3 separate regions of the Homo sapiens genome follow, and regions 2 and 3 are each linked to region 1. The links are contacts of gene promoters, found by promoter capture Hi-C in blood cells and fetal thymus (Javierre and others, 2016). All regions are on one chromosome and are shown on one strand. The core of a region is centred on a gene start or on the middle of the fragment in contact, and the rest is flanking DNA. Distances in the headings are between cores, read along the strand shown. Region 1 holds the start of RWDD2B (RWD domain containing 2B). Region 2 overlaps GRIK1 (glutamate ionotropic receptor kainate type subunit 1). Region 3 overlaps LINC01697 (long intergenic non-protein coding RNA 1697).

Region 1 (4,673 bases), core at 1,666-4,165:
TTTTGTATTTAGTAGAGATGGAGTTACACCATGTCAGTTGGGCTAGTCTCAAACTCCCGACCTCAGGTGATTCACCCGCCTTGGCCTCCCAGAGTGCTGGGATTACAGGCATGAGCCACTGCTCCCGGCCTTTTTTTTTTTAAACAAAATCCTCATACATACTTAAAATCCCTGGACTTATTGGAATTCCATATACATATTTGCTGGTCTGTTTTGGAGTTGAGAAACATAAAAAACAACTACTTGGGTGGTTATTAGAGGAAATGGTTTACTTTGTTTTTTTGTTGGCGTGGCTCTGTTACCAGTGTTTTTGGATTCTATTACCAGATTGCCAAGGTGCGACTCCTGGCTCTGCCACTTACCAACTGCAGGACCTTAGGCAAGTGGCTTAATTTATCTGTGCTTTAGTCTCCCCAACTCCATAACTGGGATGAGAGGGTTGCTGTGATGATTAGATGAGAATTTGTGGAAAGTGCCTGGCAACAGTAAATTTTATATGCGTGCTTGCTACTATTATTATTAATTAAAAAAACCTTTTTTTTTGAGACAGGGTCTAGCTCTGTCACCCAGGCCAGAGTGCAGAGTCGGCTCACTACAACCTCTGCTTTCTGGGTTTTTTAGTAGAGACGGGGTTTCACCACGTTGGCCAGGCTGGTCTCGAACTCCTGCCGTCATGATCCACCCGCCCTGGGCTCCCAAAGTGCTGGGATTACAGGCATGAGCCACCGTGTCCGGCTGCTTATTACTATTATTATTATTGGTCATCATTTCAACAAATGTTTCTCAAGCACTTACGTTCAAGCACTGGCACTAAGATAACAATGAATGAAAGTAATAAAACAACTCTACTGGTGGGAGGATACCATGACATCAAAAACAAATTTATACGCCCAGCCCAGGTGCGGTGGTGGCTCACGCCTGTAATCCCAGCACTTTGGGAGGATGAGGTGGGCGGATCACCTAAGGTCAGGAGTTTGAGACCAGCCTGGCCAACATGATGAAACCCCATCTCTACTAAAAATACAAAAATTAGCCAGGTGTGGTCGCCCACGCCTGTAGTCCCAGCTACTAGGGAGGCTGAGGCAGGAGAATCGCTTGAACTGGGGAGGCGGAGGTTGCAGTGAGCTAAGATCATACCTCTGCACTCCAGCCAGAGCAACAGAGCAAGACTGTCTCAAAAAAAAACAAAAAAGAATTTTTGTACCCAGTGAATAACTGCTATGAAGAAACCTGAAAAAGAAAACAAGGATAAGGGAAACAATGAGGCAGCAGGGGTGAGACTGCACACAGCATTGTCAGGAAAGGCCTTTCTCCTAAGGTGACTGTAGGGAAGAGACTTTAAGGAACTGAAAAAGGAGGCCATGTGTTTTTCTTGGCCAAGAGTGTTCAAGGGAAAGCGAACAGCATATTCAAAGGCCTTGAGGAAGGAGGGTGCTAGAACAGCTGGCCAGAGCACAGTGAGCTGAGGACACGGGGAATAGAAGAGTTTAGTAAGGAAATGTGGGGCAGTTTATGTTGGGACTAGTAAAGCATGGCCAGAATTTTGAATTTTATCCCGACTGACATGTAAGAGCTACAAGAGAGGTTTGACTTATGAAGATCCCCACACTTGCTGCTATGGAGAAAAGTGAAAGGAAAAGTGGGGTGACCAGATATAGACACCGCAATAACTAGGGAGAGATGATGGTGGCTTTGATAGGATTATAGTGGTCAAGTTGGTGAGCTTCAGGTTCTGGATACATGCAGAGAACAGAGGCAACAGGATTTACAGATGAATTACATGAGACACGGAAGAATGACTCCGGGGCTTTAAGGTACTGAAAGTATGGATCTGCCATTTATTTAGACGTTGATGGTCATGGGGAGCTGAAGCTTGGTTTTAGACACAAGTAATGAAGTGCCTACTAAGACACCTGTTAAATAGAGAGGTCTAGCAGGCAGTTAGATGTATAGTTTTGAAGTCTACGAGAGACTCAGCTAGATATATAATCTTGGGAGTCAACACTTATTTGGAACTATATATTTGTTTAAAGTCTCCCAGGGAGTGAGTAAAGTTGGGAGAGGGTGCTATTGAATTGGAGGTATCGAAGATGAAATGGGATTAGCAAAGAAGAACGGGACGGAGGGACTCTTGAACGGACAACTACGGGAGTGATGTCACAGGTCATTTATCTGCCAAATTATTTTCGCTTAAGAGATTTCAGTCCTTCCAAAAAACCCTCAAGATAATTTTATGATTCAAGATTTCAGCGAATGCTGTAAGATAATAGACTGTGGCCGGGCGCGATTGCTCACGCCTGTAATCCCAGCACTTTGGGAGGCAGAGGAAGGGGGACTGCTTGAGCCCAGGAGTTCAAGATCAGCCTGGGTAACATAGTAAGAGCTCGCCTTTATTATTTTTTTAAAAAATAAAATATATTTAAGAGAACGCAGACTGAAACTTGAGATTTCTGAGTGGAATAATATCTTTTCCTTGCAGATTTTTTTTTGAAGAACAGAGCAGGGTACCCCGCGACCCAAGCCAAGACGCTCTCAGGAAGAAAGCCCAGCACGCAGCCGCCCTCGCACCCTGATTGCCCCCGGGGCGAGGTCCCCGGCTGGAGCAGGGCTGCAGAAGCCGGGAAGCAACGCCGAGGACCGAGCCGACCGATGGGCGCATGCAGTGAGGGGAACCGGGGCCGCCATGCCGGGCACGTTCCCAAAGGGTTGCACTGGGCGCTGCAGCGTGGGAAACCCCCGTGGCGGTCACCACTGGCGCTAGCTGAGGCGAGACTCACCTTGAGCCGTGGCCCCCTCACTGCTGTAACCCGGGTTCCATGGCTGCATGGACAGCTCAATTTTCATCAGAAGGGAGCCTCAAAATTCTAGCATACTGCGACCCAAAACTTACAAACCGCCTCAGCTGGCGACCTACCGGAAAAAAAAAAAAAAAGCATGCGGCGCATGCGCGTCCAAGGCCGCGGACCGGAAGCTGGGGCTCGCCTGTTGGGAGCCGCGTCCGCCGGTGTTGGTGTCTGCACTTGGAAGGACGTAGGGAATGCGTTGTCCCTGCTAGGTACTTTTCAGTCGCAGAGTTCTCTTCTTCTTCTTTCTTTCTTCCTTTTTTTTTTTTTTGAGACGGAGTCTCGCTGTGTCTCTCAAGCTGGAGTGCAGTGGCGCGATCTCGGCTCACTGCAGCCTCCGCCTCCTGGGTTCAAGCGATTCTCCTGCCTCAGCCTCCCGAGTAGCTGGGATTACAGGCGCCCACCACCATGCCCAGATAATTTTTGTATTTTTCAGTAGAAATGGGGTTTCACCATGTTGGCCAGGCTGGTCTCGAACTCCTGACCTCAGGTGATCCACCGGCCTCGGCCTCCCACAGTGCTGGGATTACAGGCCTGAGCCACCGTGCCCGGCCGGAGTTTTTCTACTTAATACCTCTCCATGCCAACCCCGTTGTCATTTCCCAGCGGCCGCCTCTATAACGGGCACTTTTCAGGGACAAAGAATTGGTCCGTTAATGTTCCTCAAATTCGAACGCGCCTAGGAATAGTTCGGGGATCCTGTTGAAGTGCAGATCAGGATTCCGTAGGTAGGGGTGGGGTTCCAAATTCTACATTTCTAGTATCTTCCCACACGATGGTGATCCTCCTTGTCCCTGAATCATGGAGGAGGGCAATTAGGGAGATGTGAGCCTGGATGCATGGTGGCCTTGGCTATCTTAGGTGTTCTTGCCCATTAACCAAGCTGGGAGGAACCGTGTGAATGCATATCTATCCCTGTTAATAAAAGGGTAGTTTGAAGGAGATGCTGACAGGAGAATAATTAGAAATGTTTTTCTTCCCAATCCAACTATATGCAATACACTTTATAATATTCATTTTAGAAATGTCATAGATAAGATTTGTAAACATTGACATTTAGCAATACTAAATATCACTGCTAGGTCTCCCCTCCACTTTTTTTTTTTAAACAAAAATACGACAGTATGTATTGTAGGTCTTCATAAACTACGTCTTCTGCATAGTGTTTCATGAGCGTTTTTCAATGTCATAATTTATTTTTTCCTCCAACATTTATTATGAAAAAATTCAAGTGTAAAGCGAAGTCGAGAGAATTTTACAGTGGAGCAGACCTCAAGAGAAGGGGAAGGATGGATTTCCCCTCTATTTAGCAGTGTCTGAAGACATTTTGGGTTGTCACAACTGGAAGGATGGTATTGGCATGGGGTAGGTAGAGCACAGGGATGTTCCTCAACTTCCTACAATGAACAGGACATCCCCCGACAACAACAAATTTGCTGGTCCAAAATGTTGATAGTGTTGAGGTTGAAAAACACTGACCTGGAGAGTACAGAATTTTACTCTACCAGCTTTGTCACATACCTCATCAATCTATCTGTTTTCATACATTTAAAAGTAAACTGCAGACAGTACGCTTCTAAGTACCTCTAATGCACATCATTGGAGTTCAAATTAAGGATTTTTTAAGGTAAAAATGAAATGCATACCTTAAATACACATCAGTTTTTAAATGCACACGCCTATGGAACTCAAGCCATATTAACATATAGAACGTTACCATCACCCTAGAAAGTTCTTTCATGCCCTTTCTTAGTTCCCAACCAGTTCTCCCCAAAGGTAACCACTGTTCTGATTTTTTCCCCCACCATACTTATTTTTCTTGTTATAGAA
Region 2 (5,020 bases), core at 1,125-3,624, 620 kb after region 1:
GTAGCTCATGCTGTAGTTCAAATGTTTGTTTACCCCTAAAATTCATGTGCTGAAATTCTAACCCTCAAGACAATGGTAATAGGAGGTGGGGGCTTTGGGAGGTGAATGGATGGCACTAGTGCCCTTATAAAAGAGGCCCTTGAGAGATTCCTTGCCCCTTTCACCATGTGAGGACAAAGTGCAAGACAGCTGTCTATGAACTAGGAAGCCAGCCTTCACCAGACAACGGATTCTGCTAGCACCTTGATAGTGGACTTCCCAGCCTGCAGAACTATGACTAGTAAGTTTCTGCTGTTATTTGACACCTGGTTTATGGTATTTTGTCACAGCAGCCCAAACGAACCAAGAAACTCAGCCTTGGTTGAGGTGAATTTTTGCCTAATGTCTTTTCACCTTTCTTGAACAATCATGTGTGTGGTCTATGATTGAAAGTCCTCATTTCCTGGCTTCGTTGCAGTTGGCCTACTGCATGCTGCATGCCTGTCTCCATGGAACTTTCGGTTTTCCACCACTAGGTACTGTCTTCCATTTTGCAAACAACTGCTACTTTATCCTAGACTCCAATAATAATAATGATGACTCCAATAATAATAATGATGACACCAATAACAGTAATAAGAAACATGCAGTGCTTATAATATGTTTGGCAATATACTTAATGTTTCCTAGGTGTTGCCTTATTTTTCCTGACCACTACCTTACATGGTAGACATTTTTTTTTTAAATAAAGGAAAGAGGTTTAATTGACTCACTCACAGTTCTGCATGGCTGGGGAGGCCTCAGGAAACTTACAATCATGGCGGAAGGGGAAGTAGGTATGTCTTACATGGCAGCAGGAGAGAGAGGAGAAAGCGAAAGGGGAAGAGCCCCTTCTAAAACCGTCAGATCTCTTGAGAACTCAGTCACTATCACAAGAACAGCATGGGGGAAACGCCCCCATGATCCAATCACCTCCCTCCTTCAACACTTGGAGATTATGGGTACCCCACTCCACACGTGAGGATATGAATTCGAGATGAGATTTGAGTGGGGACACAAAGCCAAACCATATCAGTTGTACAAAGAGGTGGCAAAATAACAATTACCCGTAAAGTGCAATACAGAAACAAAAGGCTACTTTGTGATGTTAGAATATTAAAAACATAATCCTCACATAAATATGTCAAAGAAACATAAATATTTATGCATGAGAAAACAAGCAGGTAAAACTAGTTCAAAGGAGGATACAGTGGACTGAATTATACATGTACATTTTTTCTGTAAGTTCATTTCAAGAAAAGGTGTTAATCTAACTGCAATCTTACTCCAATAGACTTCCTTTTCTTGAAAATGGAAAACTGTTTTTCATTTTTTAACAGAACCTTTCATTTGATGGTAGCTATCCTTCATTAAACAATCACTACATGACAAATATTTTGCTAGGCTATACATATAAAATATGTAATCCCTACAAACTTATGGTGTGGGCATTTTATTACCCATGTTATAGAAGGAGGAACTGAGAAACAAGCTAAATGACTTGACTAAGTTCACACTGACAGCAAAGTGTGATGAAATCTCAGAATCTGTGTTCCCAGCACCAGAGTTAAATAGGTTGGTCTTTCCCTAAATCCCTGCCTCACTCTCCTATCGAAACCTATGGCCCTGGTGGACAGGTCTAGTCCAGCTCCTGACTCTGTCTTATTGAATTGTTTCTGGATATGATTTTTATGAACACAGTGTGTCCTGAAGCACTGCACATGCTTATAGATTGTGTGTGTTCTTCGGTTCCTTTGCTAATTCATTCATTAATTCATTCATCAATTCATTCACTTGTTTGGCATGTATTTATTGGGTGCTTATTCTATGTCCAGCATTGTGCAAGAACTAGGGAATTGAGACTGAAAACGCATAGCTTGGAGATAGACGTGGAAACAAACACAATAGCATACCCACAGTTGTAATGGAGGTACAAAGCCTACATCTGTGAGTCAGGGTCCTGCAGATAGGAGCTAGTGCTTGAGTTGAGACGTAAAGCATGACCCAGAGGAGCACGGCATTGCAATCAGAGTTAAAATAATTTGGTAGGAGCATATTGCATATTCAAGGGAGCCACAGTAGGTTCAGCAGGTGCTGCAGATGGAGCAGGAGATGAGAGAGCTGGCAAAGGGATCAGGAACAAGATCATGAGCCTGTATATCCTGCTGAAGAGTGTATGTTTTATCCTGAGGTATAAGAAAAAGCTTTAATGAAGCGTGTCAATCCTCTGCCATGTAGAATTTACATTACTAGGTGGCAGAAGCCACCTCTTCTACTTTTCAAGGGTGTTATCCCTTAAGATGCCAAGTTAATATTACTTATGTAGTGGAGTTCCAGTAATGCTTGTTGAGTGGGAATGTATAATCTCCTAGCATGCATTTGTTTAGCAAATGCTCGGAGAGCTAACATAGTAACATACTCTATCATGTTTCATATGTTCTTTAACTCTTCCCCTTTATCTAGTCAGCCCCATACACTGAAAGGCAGTGAGCTGGAAACATGTGTCTGAAAAGCTTACTGATTCCCAACAGTGTGTGGAGTTATCAGAAATTACCGCACATGCAACAACCTCTGCTCAGGAAGTTTACCTCCTGTGATGAATTTGGTCTTCACCCCATAAATTCAATCTGCTGACTTGCTTCTTTTCATTTTTTTTTTTCTGACTCTAGTTTTGGAACTTCTTTACAAAGTGAGAATAACTTAAAAAAAAAAAAGAAGCAGCGGGGGAAATTTGGGGACCAAGTTCCTTATTTCATGTTTCCTAATGAAACCTGATACTTGCAAAATTTTGTTCAGTTATGCACTCATCTGAAAAAACACGTGCACTTTCTCTTTTGCATGTTTTAGGTTGTCTCAGAATTTCCTCAGTGCCAGTCCTCCAGCAGGCTGAGGCATTGCTTCTGGTTACCCCATTCCATCTTCTCTGTAGGTACCTACACCCTGCCAAAGGTAGCATATGACATCCTGACTCAGGAGACAAAAGAGGATGAGCACAATGTTGACAATGGTTTCTGATTCATTCCCCCCTCCCTTCCTGTAACCCCTAACTGTGGAGATTAAAAATGAGAGATTTGCTTCTTTGGAGTGAATGAATATAAAATGCCTTCTTATTTTCAGTGTGGTCCCTCATCTTGGAGCTCATTATTTCTTTAAATATGCCTAAATGTGGCTTGGTAATTTCACCTTCTTATGCGACTTAAGTACAAGTGATAAGGTGTCTTGGGGGCTCTTGAGTGTTTGATCCCAAGCTTTCATGTCACTTCTGCCTCTCCTTGAACTTCTAGGAGATAAAAGAAAACCAGCTGTTTTCTTGTTAAAGATCAAGGTAATCAGGATGGCGATTCAGGACACAACCATGATCACTGCAGGGAAAAGGAGGTGGTGTGATGTTTTTCTATTAGGCACAGTGTGTCAGAGTTATGTAGCTGTCAGAAAAGGTATTTTGTTTCATGCCTATTTGTGATGTCTTTGTTGTTGTTGTTGTTGTTGCCAGTTTGAAATTCCTGGTATCATCTTCAGTAAACTGAATGAGGCTATTCTTAGTGGTGCCTTCCAATGGCAAGAGAATAGTATTTCAGATGCTTACTAGGTTTCTGAACTATTCTTCACAAGCATTTGCCTAATTCTTTATCCTTACAGTCATGCTGTGGGGTAGATGATACTATACCCATCTTATAGATAAGAAAACTGAGAGACAAGAAGTGTAAGTAACTTGCTGATATGGTTTTGGTGTGTCCCCACCCAAATCTCATCTCGAATTGTAGCTCCCACAATTCCCATGTGTTGTGGGAGGGACCCAGTAGCAGGTAATTGAATCATGGAGGCAAGTCTTCCCATGCTGTTCTCGTGATAGCGAATAAGTCTCATGAAATCTGATGGTTTTATAAATGGGATTTTCCCTGCACAAGTTTTCTCTTGCCTGCCACCATGTAGACATGCCTTTCACTTTCCGCCATGATTGTGAGGCCTCCTCAGCCACGTGGAACTGTGAGTCCATTAAACCTCTTTTTCTTTATAAATTACCCAGTCTCAGGTATGTCTTTATCAGCAGCATGAAAATGGACCAATAGACTTGCCCAGGTTATATTGCTCATCAGTGTTAGTGGAACTAAGATTTAAACCCATGCAGTCACTGCCAGGACTAGGATAAAGTAAGAGAGGTGCTCAGGGTACAAAATTTAAGCGAGAATTTCCTCTTAATCTTGTGCAAGTATAGAATACTCACCCAAGAATGAATGTTTCCTTAAATTGCACCCTCATCCTGGGCTTGCAAGCAACCTAGATTTGTAGCCTAGGTACTTAATCCTTATACATCCCGCCTGCTTTATCCTCACCCTCATGGATCAGAGTCAGCCTTTAGTTGCATTGAACAGACTGAGAGAGGGTGTGCAGGCATGGAAGAGACCAGCAGAGACACGAGTCCAAAGCAGGTGTCTTTCCTTACTCTTAGCTGGGTATTCTCCTGTGCCCTCCCTCTTCTTTACACTATATTTCCATCCTTCTCCAGTACAGAAAGGAAAAAAATACTCTTCACTTGAGAACTAAATGTCTGTATCCCATAGAGAAATATTAGAATAGCATCTCAGAGCATTGCGCATACTCAGGCCTAGCTACTCCAAAGAGCCTTATTTCTTATCATCAAGTCCAGACACACCCTGAGGTTCGTGGTGGAATGGATGATCATGCAGTGTACATATCGATAAGGAGTCACGGGGCTTAGAACAGGGCCTTGTGACAAGGAGTCAAACTGCCTCAGAGAAAAGAAAAGGTGGAGGACAGTCCAGGATCCCAGGACATCAGTGAAGATATCTATCCCTGCAAATACCCCATACTCTCAAAAATCTTTTATGTGCTCAGTAGGTTTTGAATGGGAATAAACTTTTCCAGTTAGCTGATAAATGACAAAATAGTCACTATATAATTAAAGAGGTCCTTCCACTCAGTCCTGTACAGCCTGAGCTTTAGGAGGCCACTGGGATTGTGGACTGATAATGCTGGAACT
Region 3 (5,096 bases), core at 577-3,076, 880 kb before region 1:
GAAATAAAAAATGAAAGAAAAATGTTTGGTCCTCAACCTTTTAAATCCAGACACTTGATGATTGTTACCACTTTACGTCAGATCGACCTTACTTTCATGGAAAATTGTCATTTTTTGGCCACTCAGCATCCAAACGAACTTTCTCTTTCTGAGATATTTACTCCCATTACCTCCCAACAGACTTGGCCAATAAGATGTTCCTGCCTAAGACTTTGAATCTGGAATGGGGAACACAGAGAACATGAGCAACGAAGAATTATTCACAGCACAGCACAGCAGTGCTGACAGCATCGACAGTCCTGTGGTGCCAGCAAGAATCCAAAAGAAGTGTCCTACATAAATTCCCTTAATCACTGACCATTTAATGAGGCTGATTCAGCCTCATACAAATTTTGTATGCTTCTTCATACAATTTTTAATTGTGCTGTAAAAGTTAACCAGAGACAATTTCTGTTGCTTGCACACAGTAAGTTGACTAAGCAAAAAAATTCAGGAGAGATTATTTTATAGAAGTCAATGCAAATGCATTAATTTACAAGAAGTGAAACTGCAAGTTCACTTTGCTGCCTTATGGCCAGCATATTCTCTTACAAGGGAAGTCTATATGGCAATCTGTGTTATGATCAGAAGATTTGGGAAAGATGGAATCTGTGAGAGAGTTTTATGACACACGGTTACAACTGATCACAGGATCAAACACTAAAACTCCAATATATATATTTATTCTTATTAGCAAAGCTTTTATGCTATGGAGGAAAAAGAAAAAGAAATAAGAAATTCTGAGTTTCTCTAAACTTCCAGTATGTGGATGAGTTAAAAACTATGTCATCTTGGATTCCCCATTTTAAATATTTCATAATAATGCATTATAATTGGTACATGTTAATATCAATTTTTTCTTTTGCTGTTTTTGAAGTGGTGTGAATCACCTGTAACAAGGTTTCCTTATCATCCATTTAATTATTGTCCTATAATATACTTTTCAATACAGCAACTACTTTTTATGTTTTGGGATTACTTTTACTATTGTTAGATAAAACCTATGGTTGATTGTGTGCCTCTAGAAGAACTTCAAAAGTACAATATAAATCTTGCTAACAATAACTCATTATGGTCAGTGGTTTTTCAGGATAGTTATTTATCTCAACTACTCATGATGTGAATGTCTTTTAAAATTTGAATAATTGCCCTCTCTGTCAGATACAATATTATTATATTTTTACTGATTACATTAAGAATTAGGCAAGATTAAAATTTTCTTTTTGCACCATCATTACTTCTTAAGAACTTAACTGTTGTTGAACAAATAGTACGTGTGTCAGTTATTAAATGTAGTCTAAATTCATGAAATAAGAATGTACATATAGCATAGTGGGAAAAACACAGGTTTTAGAATCATATACCATAGAGTTATGTTTCAGTAGTGCTACTAATGTATTCTTTGACCCTACGTCAGTCAGCAAACACAACTGAAATCAAGTGGTAACTCTATGTTCCTCCTTTGTGTAATAAGTATTTTTACATGTTTGAGATCAAATGATATAGTGTGTTAAAATTATTTATAAGCTAAAATATTTTATAAATAATAGCTGTACTTATTAAAAATTAGAGATTAATAAGTTGTTACATAAAACACACGTAAGCGATTCAATGTTAGGAAAATATATTTAGCTTTCTCAAAATTTTATTTCATAAAGCAAAGTTTCCTACATTAACTATCCAGCTATCTGTTGTGTTTTTCATCATCATCACAAATGGATTCAGACTGGCTACCATATAAAAACACTCATAAATTCTAGGAATGCCAGAAGTTCCTGTCCTCAACTATCTAATTGTATTCTTTAGATAACTTCACATATTATGAAGATAAATAACTAGCGATACAGCAGAACCCATGGTAAATAGCACTGAGTCATGCAGTTAATGAGCATAATGTGGACAGAAGAGAAAATCACTGTTGCTTCTGTCCCTTGGAGCAGGTGGACTTCAGCTGAAACTTGAGGGAATACTGTCCATTCTGTTTAGGAAGCATTGCTAGGAAGAGTGTATTGCCAGCTGCTTGTGTTTTTAAAGTCACTGCATGCATGTGTGGTAATTTGTTATGGCGACATTAGGAAACTCATACAAATTTTGATGTCTGAGAGTTATATACTGCTGTAACAAATATCTATAAAATGTCAAAGTGGCTTTGGAATTCGGCAGTGAGTGAGGCTAAGAGAATGTTGAAGGTCATCCGAGAAAAACTTACATTGTTTTGAACACATTGTTAGTAGAAATGTGGTTGTTAATGATTCTGCTAGAAAGGACTTAGAAGAAAGTGAAGAGAAGAGCATGGTAGAGAAGGCATAGACTGCGTTAGAGCATACATGAATCAGCATGAACAGACTTAGTAAAAATAGGGACATAAAAAGTACTATTGGTGAAGGCTTAGAAGGAAATAAAAAACACATTAAAAATTTGAAGAAAGAATTTCCATATTATATAGCGGTAGAAACTTAGCAAAGTTGTCCTACGTTCAGGTGAAAAATAGAACTTGTAAATGATGAAATTGAATACGTAAGTAAGGATATTTCCAAGCAAAGGGTTGAAGAAGCCGCCTGGCTTCTTGTTTCTTCTCATAGCAAAATGCAATGAGAAAGAGATAATTTGAGAAAAGAACCGTTTAAACAAAAAGAAACCAAGACATAATGATTTTGGAAATTCTCAGTTTATTCAGACTGCAAAAGATATTAAAATAAAGAAACTCAGTAACAGGGATAGATAATCTAAAGAAAAAGCCTAGGACACGGCTGTAGTAACCTTCTGTTTTTATACCTCAGCAATTTGCTAATGCCTCAAAAAGATCAAAAGTACTCAAATATAAAGGGCTCTTTGAAGAGATTAGATTTCCTCAATCAAACCAAAGAGCATCGAGGAAGCTTAAGGTTACTGTCCCTCACATATCTCAGCAGAAGGCAAAAATAGAAGACTGATTATCTAAGAAAGATCTCTGAAAGAGTCTCATATTATGGAGTGAACCCCTGTGGCATACATGGGAGACCCACTTGGTTCTTGAGAATTTTATATCAGGAGAAACACTGTCAGTCTGTATTGAAAGGAACAGAGAAAATACGAAATTAAAGAAGACTATTAAACCTCCAAAATTCTGGCAGGAAAGAAGCTTACACAGCTACTCAGTTGCAAAGATCTGCCACTTTTCATATACATGAAAGGACTCAGAGGAGGAAGCCACAGGTTTAGAAGGAAAAGCTAAAAGCAACATCGTATTAGTCTTGGATCTAGGAACCTAATTTCTCTAGCAGAATCTAGAAATGGCTTGGGACAAGTGATTGTTTTTTTACCTAGGATTTTCTCCCTCTTGAAAACAGGACTGTCTGTAACTATTATCCTATGCCTGCCCTACCATCATATTTCAGAAACAGGTAACTTATGTTTTCACTTTCAAAGATTCACAATAAAGAGAAATTGTACCTCAGAATGGATTATACCAGAGCTTTCCTCATGCATAAATTAAATAATTTAGGTTATGTGATTTGAAGCTTTTGAGTGGGTGAGGTGACATTTTGGATGCTGAGTTGGTGCCGTAGTGAGTCCAGAATTCTGCGGAACTTGGTTTCGGTTAATGAATTTTGTAGGTGAGATAGTCTTAAATCTTTAGAGTTTAGAAAGTGGAATGTCCTACCCAGCATAAAAATCCCCCAGTGATGTACATGTCCTAGTTCCCAGAACCTATACATAGGTTAACATATATGGCAGGCGTGATTACGATTAAATAATTTGATATGAGTAGATTATTGTCAAGGTGGTCCCAATCTCATCACAGCAGTCCTAATAAGCAGAAAACCTTTCCAGGCTTCCCTGTTGTCAGTGAACCAGGGAAGCCTGGTGTGTGGGAAGAACTCTATTCGCCATTGGTTGCTTTAAAGATGGAAGGGGCCACAAACCAGGAAATGTGGTTGGTTTCTAGCAGCTGGAAAAGGCAGGAAAGAGATTTTCCCCTAGATCTTCTGAAGAGAAATGCAATCCCACTAATACCTTGATTTTAGCTCAGTGAAACTTTTGTCAGACTTCTGACCTATAGAACAACAAGGTAATAAATTATTGTAGTTTTATACGACTAATATTTTGGTAACTTCAATGGCAGCAATAGAAAACAAATGCATGTAAAAATTATTGCCCATGAAAACTTTGTTTCAGTAATGTATATATACATATATCTCAGTCATATAGATAAAGAGGTACATACATACATACACATACATATATGCTACAGAAAGTTCACCCTCCTCAAAGTAGTATGCAAATGGACTGTACAAACTGAAACCATGAAAAGTGATTTTAATAATCAATGGGAAAAATTATAATTGTACCGTAATCTTTAATGATGTTTGTCAAGACTTTACAATCTCTCTTATTGTTGGTTATAAATTTACAAAGAATTAAAAGGTAATAAAACTAGTCTTACCTAGTACTCTTTAATTTAAAACACTTGAAACATTGAGGTTGAAGTACTTTACTTCTTTGTAAAAAACTTAGTATAAATTGTTGATACACTCAACACTTGGATGGAAATTGTTGGGTATTACTTTAAGGGAATTATACTAAATGAAAAAAAATGCAATCTCAACAGGTAACAAATTGTATATTTTCATTTATAAAATAGTCACAAGATTACAAAATTGTAGAGGAGGAGAATAGATTAATGGTCATAGGACTTAGTTGTTTCGGGGGAAAGAGGTGGGTATGATTATAAAGGAAGCATGGTTCCTATGCTGCTGGAACTGTTGTGATTGGAGTCGTGGCTACGGAAGGCTACATGTGTGCTAAAATTGCATAGAACTGCATATGTACATGTTTATATATGTTTTTATGTTTATTGTCATACAAGATGTTACCATTTGCAGAGTCTAGGTGAAGGGTACATGGGGGCTCCTTGTATGTTTTTTGAAACTTTCTGTGAATCTATACTTATTTTAAAATATAAATAAAATCTATCAACAGTTTTTGTCCTCTACTTCTTATTTATAACAAATGATACAGAGTGAGCATTTTTTTCTATGCATTGACAACTTCTCATATTCCTATCTAACCTTGGA

What was found. Contacts are between HindIII fragments. The CHiCAGO score rates a contact against its expected background, and 5 or more counts as called.
Region 2: a fragment that was not itself captured here is called in contact with the fragment with the promoter of RWDD2B in region 1 in 1 of 17 cell types (monocytes); the score reaches 5.5 in monocytes.
Region 3: a contact is called between a fragment that was not itself captured here and the fragment with the promoter of RWDD2B in region 1, in 1 of 17 cell types (M1 macrophages). The highest score is 5.2, in M1 macrophages.

What each region holds. Positions count from the first base shown.
Region 1 is chr21:29,016,434-29,021,106 of GRCh38, forward strand. RWDD2B (RWD domain containing 2B) reads right to left here and starts at 2,916. Exons shown (of 5, transcript NM_016940.3): 1 at 2,778-2,916. The coding sequence starts at 2,844. LOC124905005 (a long non-coding RNA gene) reads left to right here and starts at 1,153. Exons shown (of 2, transcript XR_007067836.1): 1 at 1,153-1,814; 2 at 2,480-4,673. RefSeq lists an enhancer at 2,757-3,006. The HindIII fragment of the contact is 4,408 bases long and covers 1,871-4,673 here.
Region 2 is chr21:29,637,442-29,642,461 of GRCh38, forward strand. All of the region lies in intron 7 of GRIK1 (glutamate ionotropic receptor kainate type subunit 1), which reads right to left. Among named protein-coding and RNA genes, the nearest start is that of GRIK1-AS3, 17 kb to the right of the region's middle. RefSeq lists an enhancer at 2,391-2,470. The HindIII fragment of the contact is 309 bases long and covers 2,221-2,529 here.
Region 3 is chr21:28,136,510-28,141,605 of GRCh38, forward strand. LINC01697 (long intergenic non-protein coding RNA 1697) reads left to right here. Exons shown (of 5, transcript NR_126010.1): 5 at 181-1,100. All of the region lies in intron 5 of LINC01695 (long intergenic non-protein coding RNA 1695), which reads right to left. Among named protein-coding and RNA genes, the nearest start is that of LINC01695, 90 kb to the right of the region's middle. The HindIII fragment of the contact is 2,180 bases long and covers 737-2,916 here.